Linked DNA regions of Homo sapiens: regions 1, 2 and 3 are each linked to region 4. The links are contacts of gene promoters, found by promoter capture Hi-C in blood cells and fetal thymus (Javierre and others, 2016). All regions are on one chromosome and are shown on one strand. The core of a region is centred on a gene start or on the middle of the fragment in contact, and the rest is flanking DNA. Distances in the headings are between cores, read along the strand shown. Region 1 overlaps MYH9 (myosin heavy chain 9). Region 2 overlaps MYH9 (myosin heavy chain 9). Region 3 overlaps APOL1 (apolipoprotein L1). Region 4 holds the start of FOXRED2 (FAD dependent oxidoreductase domain containing 2).

The links. The method cuts DNA at HindIII sites, captures the fragments that hold promoters and counts their contacts. A CHiCAGO score of 5 or more calls a contact.
Region 1: a contact is called between a fragment that was not itself captured here and the fragment with the promoter of FOXRED2 in region 4, in 10 of 17 cell types (neutrophils, naive B cells, naive CD4 T cells and 7 more). The highest score is 9.7, in neutrophils.
Region 2: a fragment that was not itself captured here is called in contact with the fragment with the promoter of FOXRED2 in region 4 in 1 of 17 cell types (activated CD4 T cells); the score reaches 5.2 in activated CD4 T cells.
Region 3: a contact is called between a fragment that was not itself captured here and the fragment with the promoter of FOXRED2 in region 4, in 1 of 17 cell types (neutrophils). The highest score is 6.5, in neutrophils.

Annotation. Positions count from the first base shown.
Region 1 is chr22:36,298,521-36,301,220 of GRCh38, reverse strand. It overlaps MYH9 (myosin heavy chain 9), which reads left to right. Exons shown (of 41, transcript NM_002473.6): 22 at 164-370; 23 at 957-1,094; 24 at 2,179-2,302. Among named protein-coding and RNA genes, the nearest start is that of MIR6819, 13 kb to the right of the region's middle. RefSeq lists an enhancer at 66-1,265. The HindIII fragment of the contact is 2,583 bases long and covers 25-2,607 here.
Region 2 is chr22:36,279,424-36,282,123 of GRCh38, reverse strand. MYH9 (myosin heavy chain 9) reads left to right here. Exons shown (of 41, transcript NM_002473.6): 41 at 1-844. Among named protein-coding and RNA genes, the nearest start is that of MIR6819, 6.1 kb to the left of the region's middle. The HindIII fragment of the contact is 4,455 bases long and covers 1-2,700 here.
Region 3 is chr22:36,261,536-36,264,235 of GRCh38, reverse strand. It overlaps APOL1 (apolipoprotein L1), which reads right to left. Exons shown (of 6, transcript NM_003661.4): 5 at 2,514-2,640. Among named protein-coding and RNA genes, the nearest start is that of APOL1, 9.8 kb to the right of the region's middle. The HindIII fragment of the contact is 1,490 bases long and covers 639-2,128 here.
Region 4 is chr22:36,505,745-36,508,444 of GRCh38, reverse strand. FOXRED2 (FAD dependent oxidoreductase domain containing 2) reads left to right here and starts at 1,405. Exons shown (of 9, transcript NM_001102371.2): 1 at 1,405-1,436; 2 at 2,022-2,549. The coding sequence starts at 2,023. RefSeq lists a silencer at 1,159-1,658. The HindIII fragment of the contact is 16,870 bases long and covers 1-2,700 here.

The DNA.
Region 1 (2,700 bases), core at 67-2,566, 210 kb after region 4:
ATGTCTGGAAGGTACCTGGAAGCTTCAGAGCTCTCCAGATGAAAGCTACTTTTGTCTGCATGTTCCTTTCCCTCTGGGATCCCGAGCCATGGCGTCCGTCCTTGAGGATGGAGTGGCTTGAGGGTGTTGCGAGGAGCTTGTGTTTTCCACTTGTTGTTTGCAGCTCATGGCAGAGAAATTGCAGCTGCAGGAGCAGCTCCAGGCAGAAACCGAGCTGTGTGCCGAGGCTGAGGAGCTCCGGGCCCGCCTGACCGCCAAGAAGCAGGAATTAGAAGAGATCTGCCATGACCTAGAGGCCAGGGTGGAGGAGGAGGAGGAGCGCTGCCAGCACCTGCAGGCGGAGAAGAAGAAGATGCAGCAGAACATCCAGGTTCCTGCCCGCTGCACCCGGGGAGGGGTGGCGCCGGAGGGGCAGGGCGGGGCGGAGGAGCAGGAACCAGGAGCTGGGAGAACATGGAATTAGGGTCCAAGGAGGCTGCTCCTCACGCAATCTGCTTGGGGCTCTCAGTGAGAGGTGTTCCCTTTGGGCTGGTAGTTTGTGACATGTGCATCTGAGATCTCCATGAGCACTGCCTGGGCCAGCATCAAGGCCAATTTGATTTCCCTGCCATTAGCCCTGGCCCTGGCTAGCCGAAGGGGCACAGGGCCAGCACCTCTGCGTCCTGCCTGTTTCATGGGTGGGAGCTTGCTGCAGGAAACCCTTCAGAACATTGCACCGATGTTCTGGCCCTGTGTCCCAGTTTGAAATCTGGAATCCTACAAATGGGGCTTGGGCCCTGCCTCGGCTGTGGCCCTGGGCTGGCGGACCTTGCCGTCCCCACCTCAGCCATGGCCCTGGGCTCACAGACCTTGCTATTTTCTCCTTGGCGTTTGGATCTGGCCTTCGGACCTTGCTGCCTTCACCTTGGCCATGCCTCTGGGCCTGCTGTCCTTACCGTGTCTCTGGCCCCCGGCAGGAGCTTGAGGAGCAGCTGGAGGAGGAGGAGAGCGCCCGGCAGAAGCTGCAGCTGGAGAAGGTGACCACCGAGGCGAAGCTGAAAAAGCTGGAGGAGGAGCAGATCATCCTGGAGGACCAGAACTGCAAGCTGGCCAAGGTGAGGCCCGTGGCTGTCGCCTGCCGCTGCTCCAGGGGCGCCGTGGATGGGAGAGTGTGGTCACCCTTGCAGGGCCTGGCTCCCCGCTGCTGCTGCTTCCTGTCTCTTCTGCCTGCAGCATGAGGGCTTCTGCTTAACTGCAAGTGCTCCCTGGAGGTCCCATGGGCCTTAGTTGAGGGATTTCCTCATAAGCAAAGGGGCCCTGGGGAAGGGTTTGTCCTTTCCCCTCTGGAAAGCTCTTCTTTGCCAGCCGTGAGACCCGAGCCTGTGTAAAGGTGGCCATCTGTGCAGCATTGCAAGTGTTGGTCACTGTGGGGTTGGGGACACCTTGGTGGCTCTGTGTTGAGATACGGGGTACTCTTCCTCCACTGTCCCTGGGCGGCAGCTATTCCTCTTGAGAATGAGTTGGGTCCCTGTCGGTGTCTGCCCAGGGAGCAGATAGCAGCCGGGGAACCAGTTAGAGGAGAAGGCAGGAGAAGGCAGCCTCCCCACCTTTCGGGCCTCCTCAGAACATGGGAGCCCCAAAGGCTGGGGAGGCTGAGGTGGCAGGACGCCCACCCGGGACTGGGATGAGGGGACTCAGGTGCTTGTGCCGAGCTGTGGCCGCTGGGCAGGGGTGTTGCAGGGGCCACACAGAACAGAAAGCAAGGAGAGCAGCCCGGGGCACCGCGGGGCTGAAGAGGGGGAGGGGCCGTGGCCCACCTGGCAGGTGAGAGAGGGGCACGGAGAAGGTGGCCTGGTGGCGCAGGTGAGCGCCGTGTGGCAGCCTCTTGAAGGAGTGGAGCCATCTGTCCCTGCTGACACTAGCTGTCACCTGGAATCCTTTCTCACCCAAGCCCACAGGGGAAGGGGAAGGGCTTGGGCACCCACATTTTTTGGTTCTAAGGAAGCGTACCTCGCTGTTTCAGGGGAGCTCGTGACCTTTCAAAATTATCCTTTGATCTAGGAAAATCCTAATGAACTTGATCAAGCGTCTAAAGCCCTCTCCATTCAGCCCCAGATTTCCGGGCGAGTCATGCTTTGAGGCTAGCAAGTGTTCTGTGCTCAACCAACACTAAATGCCAGCCTACTCCCCTCTCCCCAGGAAAAGAAACTGCTGGAAGACAGAATAGCTGAGTTCACCACCAACCTCACAGAAGAGGAGGAGAAATCTAAGAGCCTCGCCAAGCTCAAGAACAAGCATGAGGCAATGATCACTGACTTGGAAGGTGAGGGGGTGACGAGCAGGAGGTGATGGGCAGGGGCTGGCGGGCAAGGGCTGGCGGTCAGGGGCCGGCCTGTCTGACCGGAACACCGAGGCCTTCTCAGCTCACGGGTGAGCCTGGGTCACACTACAGCACTGGCTGCTGCCCTTTAGACCTGAGGTCACCAGGTCGAGGGGAGCCGTGTCTGGTGCCTGCGGGAACCTGAGCCTCCAGGCCCCTGTTGCTCTGTGGCTAGATGCCCCCACTGCATGAAGCGTGTTTAGAGAGCTTTGGCATTGCTCTGTTGTGTGCCGTGGGTTTTGGAAGCTTCTGAGACTTCCTAGGAGGCTCCGGGTTTGACCCACAGGACTCACTAGCTCTGTCACTGACTAGCTGGCTCATCTTGCAGCTATGACTTAAGC
Region 2 (2,700 bases), core at 125-2,624, 230 kb after region 4:
GGCCCTGGGCCTCCACCTCTGTGCAGGGCACAGAAGGCTGGGGTGGGGGGAGGAGTGGATTCCTCCCCACCCTGTCCCAGGCAGCGCCACTGTCCGCTGTCTCCCTCCTGATTCTAAAATGTCTCAAGTGCAATGCCCCCTCCCCTCCTTTACCGAGGACAGCCTGCCTCTGCCACAGCAAGGCTGTCGGGGTCAAGCTGGAAAGGCCAGCAGCCTTCCAGTGGCTTCTCCCAACACTCTTGGGGACCAAATATATTTAATGGTTAAGGGACTTGTCCCAAGTCTGACAGCCAGAGCGTTAGAGGGGCCAGCGGCCCTCCCAGGCGATCTTGTGTCTACTCTAGGACTGGGCCCGAGGGTGGTTTACCTGCACCGTTGACTCAGTATAGTTTAAAAATCTGCCACCTGCACAGGTATTTTTGAAAGCAAAATAAGGTTTTCTTTTTTCCCCTTTCTTGTAATAAATGATAAAATTCCGAGTCTTTCTCACTGCCTTTGTTTAGAAGAGAGTAGCTCGTCCTCACTGGTCTACACTGGTTGCCGAATTTACTTGTATTCCTAACTGTTTTGTATATGCTGCATTGAGACTTACGGCAAGAAGGCATTTTTTTTTTTTAAAGGAAACAAACTCTCAAATCATGAAGTGATATAAAAGCTGCATATGCCTACAAAGCTCTGAATTCAGGTCCCAGTTGCTGTCACAAAGGAGTGAGTGAAACTCCCACCCTACCCCCTTTTTTATATAATAAAAGTGCCTTAGCATGTGTTGCAGCTGTCACCACTACAGTAAGCTGGTTTACAGATGTTTTCCACTGAGCATCACAATAAAGAGAACCATGTGCTACGAGCCGTGTCTGTAGCATTTGTCTGCGGCCAGGGGGCCCTGGACAGGACTAGGCCTGGCTTCTGCAGCCAATGCCGGCTCTGCATCGTCGGGAACCAGATTGGCTGAGGCGTAGGCTGAGCTAGCTGTGGGCGGTTGTGCAGAAAAGCTAAGATGGAAAGGTGGGCTAGGCCAGATCCAAGGAGGCTAAGAGCATCTTAGAAACCTTGGTTCAAGGCCGAGCACGGTGGCTCACGCCTGTAATCCCAGCACTTTGGGAGGCTGAGGCAGGGGGATCACCTGAGGTCAGGAGTTCAAGACCAGCCTGGCCAACATCTCTACTAAAAATACAAAAAAAATTAGCCGGGCGTGGTGGTGTGTGCCTGTAATCCCAGCTACTCAGGAGGCTGAGGCAGGAGAATCGCTTGAACCCGGGAGGCAGAGGTTGCAGTGAGCTAAGATTGTGCCACTGCACTCTAGCCTGGGCGAGAGTGAGACTCTGTCTCAAAATAAATAAATAAAAAAATTTAAAAAAGTGGACACTATCTGGGTCAGCTTAAGAAGGTGACCGATTTTTGGCAAAACAGCTGCATGCACATTCCCTGGCCCTTAGCTTCCTATGTGCCACCCTGCCCTGTCACCCTGGGCAAGTCACTCCCTTCCCGGCTAGCTTCCTTGTCTGTTAAGTAAAGTACACTGGATCTTTGCTGCTGGATGGCGGTCCTTGCACCAGAAGCGTTGGCTCCACGTGAGAACTGCTTAGAAACTATTTCAGACCCCGCCCCCAACCCTCTGAATCCAACTCCACTTTAGCAAGACAAGATCTACAAACGATCTTCATGGCATTTTGTCAGAATCTTTTTTTTTTTTTTTTCCCTGAGATGGAGTCTCACTCTGTCACCCAGGCCGGAATGCAGTGGCTCAATCTCAGCTCACTGCAACCTCCGCCTCCCAGGTTCAAGCTATTCTTCTGTCTCAGCCTCCCGAGTAGCTGGGATTACAGGTGCCCGCCACCATGCCTGACTAATTTTTTTGTATTTTTAGTAGAGACAGGGTTTCACCATGTTGGTCAGGCTGATCTGAAACTCCTGACCTCCAAAGTGTTGGGATTACAGGCGTGAGCCACCACACCTGGATTTTTTTTTTTTTTTTTCTGAGACAGAGTCCCTGTCACCCAGGCTGGAGAGCAGTGGAGCGATCTTGACTCACTGCAACCTGTGCCTCCCAGGTTCAAGTGATTCTCGTGCCTCAGCCTTCTGAGTAGCTGAGACTACAGGCGTGCACTACCACACCTGGCTAATTTTTGTATTTTTAGTTGAGATGGGGTTTTGCCATGTTGGCCAGGGTGGTCTCGAACTCCTGACCTCAGGAGATCCACCTGCCTCGGCTTCCCAAAATGCTGGGATTACAGGCATGAGCCACCACACCTGGCCGTTTCACCCCATTTGAACCTTAGTTTTCTCCTCTGGGAAGCCAAATTAATAAATGTTTTTATCACAGGGCCGTCGTTGAAGCATGTATGACTATGTGTGTGAAAATGTTCTGCAAACCAAAAAGGGCTCAGGTGCTATAATTTTTTTTCTGCAAAGGTTGGGCTTTGAAAGGACTTTAATTAAAGATTTTAACTGTAAGATATTCATAACCTAAAATTGCCTTTTTAACCATTTTTAGGTGAACAGTTTCGTGGAATTACATTCACATTGTTGCACAACCACCATCATCCACAGAACTCTTCTCTTGCAAAACTGACACTTTGTACCCAGTAAACATGAACTGCTCATTCTCCCTCCCCCAGCCCTTGACAACCAACACTCTGCTCCTTATCTTTATAAATTTGACCACCGTAAGAACCTCACATGAACGGAATCATACAGCAT
Region 3 (2,700 bases), core at 134-2,633, 240 kb after region 4:
CTCAGGGAGGGGCTGGAGACTCCAGGTCAGCCATGAGGGCAGCTTGTGATCCAGCCCCAGCAGATACTCTGGACACTAAGGCATGGGTTGAGAAAGAAGGACTTTCTCCTTGACCAACTCCAGCTGGGCTCTTCTGAGCCTCTTCTCCACTAGGCGCCGACCTTGGCCTTCCACAGCCACCCACTGCTTGCTGGACCTGCACCACCCAGCTCAGCAAGAATCTCCCCAAGTCAGTTTAGGGAGGGTCTTCCCCCCTTGCTGTCTGATTACGCTTTGCTATCTGATTATGCTCTTCACCCCCACCATTGATGGGTGAGTGTCTGACCTGCCTTTAGTGAGAATCCTGTTAGGCCAATTTAGCAGGAACCCCCCACTCTGGTGTCTCCTATCAGTCCTGTTCCATCTCCCGCCCCCACCCTGGTGTTGGCTGTGACTCCCCCTCTGTCTTTACTATATTTGGAGCTGGGCTCAGTCTCCCTCCCCTGTAACAACAATCCTGAAAAAAGGCTTCATTTCTGGTTTAATGTGATTCACAGGAATTTTTCCTTAACTGGGTGAGCTTCCCTGGTTGGCAACACCGCATGTGTTTTGTCCCACATTCACACAGGAGAACACAGCGTCCTGAGGACAATGAAGCTTCACACTTAAAACCCTCCCAAACTCTGCCCCGTGTGTCTCTTTCTTAGGCTGATTTTAATCTGTGTTCTTTCCGTGTGATCAACCACAATTGTGAAATAGCAGTTTTCAGTGAGTTATGTGAGTCCTTCCAGTGAATTACAAAATCAAAGGATGGATTTAGAAATCCCCTTAAATTTGCAGGTGGTGTCAAAGGTAAGGGTGCCCTCAGACATTGCAGTCTGGCTATCTCTGAGTACTTTGAATTCAAACAAAAACAAAACCCCGGAGAGACAGGAGTTCACTTTGCCTGGCATCTGCTCCCTTCCAATGCCTCATGCCCTTTCACCTGGCTGAAGGCTACTGGTTCTGGCCACTGCCCCAGCTGACTGGAGTGGGAGATCTGGCTATTCATTCTGGCTCCACATGGACGCTCCAGCCACCTTACTGCCTCCTGACCTACCACCTGCACCCCCAACCTTCCAGGTCTCACTCGCAGGTGTCACCAGCCTAACTGATGCCTTAGTAGTGACAGCTTCACCTGTGTGCACACCAAGGCCATTTGCAATTTTATGGAACCTCTAGAAGATTCAAAACACTTTCAGAACCACCTATATAAATTGCTAATGCTGAAAAGACCTGAATTTGGACAAGATGGTAGAGGAAGTGTTTTCCTCCTTGGTTGGGAAGTTGTGAGTCTGCTCAGTATCCCTGAAATTACACAAATTGGCAGCAACTAATTCTACTATGAAAATGGTCACTAAGACATACTGCTTGTCAATGTCAGGGGTTTCTCTGTGTAGAAGAGAAGAAGGTCTCAAAGGGTAGCCCAGAACTTGCCAGTTCCAAGGCGTGGTGTGAGAGACACAGGCAACCATGACCCTATATGCCCATGAGTGTTGGGATCATCCAGACAGGGAAGAAATATCCCTCTCCCACTCACATGTCCTCTGCAAGTTCATGACCTCCTTAAGTTTCAAGCCCTTGGTGCCTCTCTTTCCACACCCTAGTCCCAGCCCTGGTGCCCCAGCCTTCCTGCTTGTCCTACAACCAAGGCTGACTCTTGCTCCATCCTGACTCCAGGCTCTGACGCTGATCCCGGTCTCTCTGGGCCTTTGGGCAGGATCTTGGTGTTGGTTCCCCACCTTTGACCTGGAGTTGCCTCTAAGGCCTTCACCACACTCCTATCACATTGAGTTGCTATTCCTATTAGACTGATGACAGTTTCCAGTCTCTGACATAAGCCCAGAGCCCAGGGACTGGACACAGACAGAGCTGGAAAGAGACCCAGCGCTGTGCAACTCCACTCCAGCCTCTCGGCATCCTGGACCAGCAGAAGGGTCCTGCCGTGTTTATGGAATTCCTCAGATGAGAAAAAGGGCTCCAGCCAGCATCCCCAGGAACACACATTGGTTAGGTCAGGATTTTTCTGACTTGTCCCAAAGGTCAAGTCCTGCTGGGCTCCCATCTTCAAGAAGAAGATCCTTAACCCTGGTTCTGTTTCCACCAAGCTTGTAAGATGTTAACGTTAACTGTGCACCTACTGTGTGTCAGTCATTATGCTAAGCACTTTACATGCACGATCTCATTTTTCTCACAATAAAACTCCATTGATGAAGAAAGGCTGAAAGTGAGAAAGTAACTGGCAAAGTTCCCATCACCAGCAGATGGCAGAAATGACCCTGTTCCTGTGGGCTTCCTATCCCCTCAGCCTGAGGCTACTCACTGCCAGCGAAGGACATGGAGGAAATATTCTTCCTGGAGTGCCAAGAAGGTCATCCTCAAGCCCAGCAGAGGGGGCTGCCTGGAGGAGGTGTGCCTGTCAGGGAAAACTAGCCCAGGGGAGAGCTGGGTGGCATCGCCGGAGTGCCCAATGGAGGTAACCCCATGGAGCTTACCTGGGCAGTTCAGCAGCAGCCACGAATCCGTTCCAGGCCTCATTATCAGTCAGCAGGAGTAGCAGATTCTGTGTGCTCACTTTTTCCTTGAAATACTTAATGGCATCCTCAATAAAGATACTGCTCTCTAGTTGGAAAGAAGAAAGGATAAGGTTGGAGGAAAGTGTGGGAGTGCATAACAGCCATT
Region 4 (2,700 bases), core at 156-2,655:
AAAAAGAAGAAATAAGACATCCCTACTTTATTTTTGGCAAAGTATTCTGCCTGACCTCTCTGGTTGCAATGCTTATTCAACAAATGCTTAAACTTCCGTATGTCAGATACTGGACAATTTCTGCTCTGAGGGAGCTTTTCTCTGATGTTGACACAGACTGAAGAAAGTAAATGACATTCGGCCAGGCGCGGTGGCTCACGCCTGTAATCCCAGCACTTTGGGAGGCCGAGGCGGGCGGATCACGAGGTCAGGAGATCGAGACCATCCTGGCTAACACAGTGAAACCCTGTCTCTACTAAAAATACAAAAAATTAGCCGGGTGTGGTGGCGGGCACCTGTAGTCCCAGCTACTAGGGAGGCTGGGGCAGAAAAATGGCGTGAACCTGGGAGGTGGAGCTTGCAGTGAGCCGAGATCACGCCACTGCACTCCAGCCTGGGCGACAGAGTGAGACTCCATCTCAAAAAAAAAAAAAAAAGAAAAAGTAAATGACATTCTTTGGTAGGTACTTGTAGGCCTGAGAGGTCAGGAAAATTTTTCTAAGGAGTCCCCAGCTACGATTTTTAATTCAAAGAATCTCCAGCCATGCAAATCTGCAGGCTCGCAGTTCTTTCCACCTGCCCTTCCCCCAAGAACACTCAGCCCCATTTCACTGGACTTTGAAGGTTCCTACACTGACTTCGTATTTCTCCCCATGTAAATCTCATGCAGGGGCCACTTGCCACCCCTGGGAAGCCAACCTTCATCATCCAGTTCACGTTATCTTCCTCCTGCCATTTATCTTGCCTCCACTGAGTTTTAATTCCAGGCTCCACTTCCTGTGATTGTAAACATATCCCTTCATCCCTATGTCTCCATTTGACCAGTCAGCTACCAAATGTCGGAAACAATGCCTTGCCCACCTCTCCTATTTGGTGGAAGATTAGGACAGTCGTGTATGTTACTTGGTAAGCAGTACACTGAGTCACTGTAGCAAACGCTTGTTAATTGGCTTATCGGTCCTGGCTCCACCACGCTGGTTTCCAGTCCCACAAAACTGGGTAGGCCAACTAGTTTTAGCGTTTGGCTACATTCATGGAATATGAGAGCTAGGATTAGCTCCAAAAATCACGTGCTCCCCTCCCTCCGTGTAGAGAGGCACCTTTTAAAACGAAGGACCCAGTTCCCCATCCCGGATCTCCAGACCTTCCACCCTCGCGGGTGCGCGCTAGCCCCAGGCCCCTCTACCAGCCCCCGGAGCAGCGAACGCAGCACGCGCGCGCCTCTCCCGCGCTGGGCCGGAGCAGGCAGCCTGCCAGCTGGTCCCGGCGTGCCGCGCGCCGCGCACGTGACCCCGCCCCCTGCCATTGGTCCGGGCGCGAGGGGCGGAGCCGCCGCGGAGCAAGCGAGCCAAGCGCGGCCTCATTAGACCACGGGTTGCAGCCGGAGCGGCTGGGAGGTTCGCGCGTTTCTCAGGGTTCGGTCGGAGGCGGGGAGGCCGGAGCTGCGGGCGTAGGGACCTGGCGGCTCCTGAAGCGCACGCGGGCGGGCGGCAGGTGTGCGCGGCATCCCTGTCACGTGGCCGAAGAGCCTGGGGCGCGCGGACCCTGGCAGGGGGCGGGGCGCACGCAGGCCACACCCACTTCAGGCTCCCACCCGGTCGCTGGAGAGGGGCCAAGGCCTCTGGAAGGTCCAACCTGGAGGGTGGTTCAAAGGGGTGTTGGGCACCCTCAAATTAGGGGAAAATTGGGGAGTACGCTCTCCTTCCCCAGGGTGGAGGTTACTACAATCATAAGCGGGGAGCCGGTGCCCCTGAGGAAGGAGACCCTGAGGGAGATAAGATGGAGGGGCTCGGGATTCCGGGGAGCCCCAAGTCCCAGCTTGAAACGGTGGAGTCCGGGCAAATGAGCTCTGAGGACGGCTTCTGGGCCTGGCCGTGACCCAGATTGCAGTGAGAGTTCCCGCAGGCCCCGCCTCTTTCTGGGCCTCGTGTCTCCCAGCCGCCGGGCCGGGTGCGAGGCCTTACCCCTCTGATCTGCTGCAGGATGGGCCTCTCCGCTGCGGCCCCGTTGTGGGGTCCCCCGGGGCTGCTCCTGGCCATCGCCCTGCACCCAGCGCTGTCGGTGCCCCCGCGCCGGGACTACTGCGTGCTGGGCGCTGGGCCCGCGGGCCTGCAGATGGCCTACTTCCTGCAGCGCGCTGGACGCGACTACGCAGTGTTCGAGCGGGCCCCGCGGCCCGGCAGCTTCTTCACACGCTACCCGCGGCACCGCAAGCTCATCAGCATCAACAAGCGGTACACGGGCAAGGCTAACGCCGAGTTCAACCTCCGCCACGACTGGAACTCTCTGCTCAGCCACGACCCCCGGCTGCTCTTCAGACACTACTCGCGTGCCTACTTCCCCGACGCCCGCGACATGGTGCGCTACCTGGGTGACTTCGCGGACACGCTGGGGCTCCGTGTCCAGTACAACACCACCATCGCCCACGTCACTCTGGACAAGGACCGACAGGCCTGGAATGGCCACTACTTCATCCTAACTGACCAGAAGGGCCAGGTGCATCAGTGCAGGTAAGGCCGGTGCCAGAGCTCACCTGCGGAAGCTGGGACCTTCCCCACACGAACCACACACCTTGATTGGCCAGTAGGTATGGGAGGAATGGACGAAAAAGGGTATTTCGCTTTTTTTTTTTTTTAAGACGGAGTCTCACTCTGTCGCCCA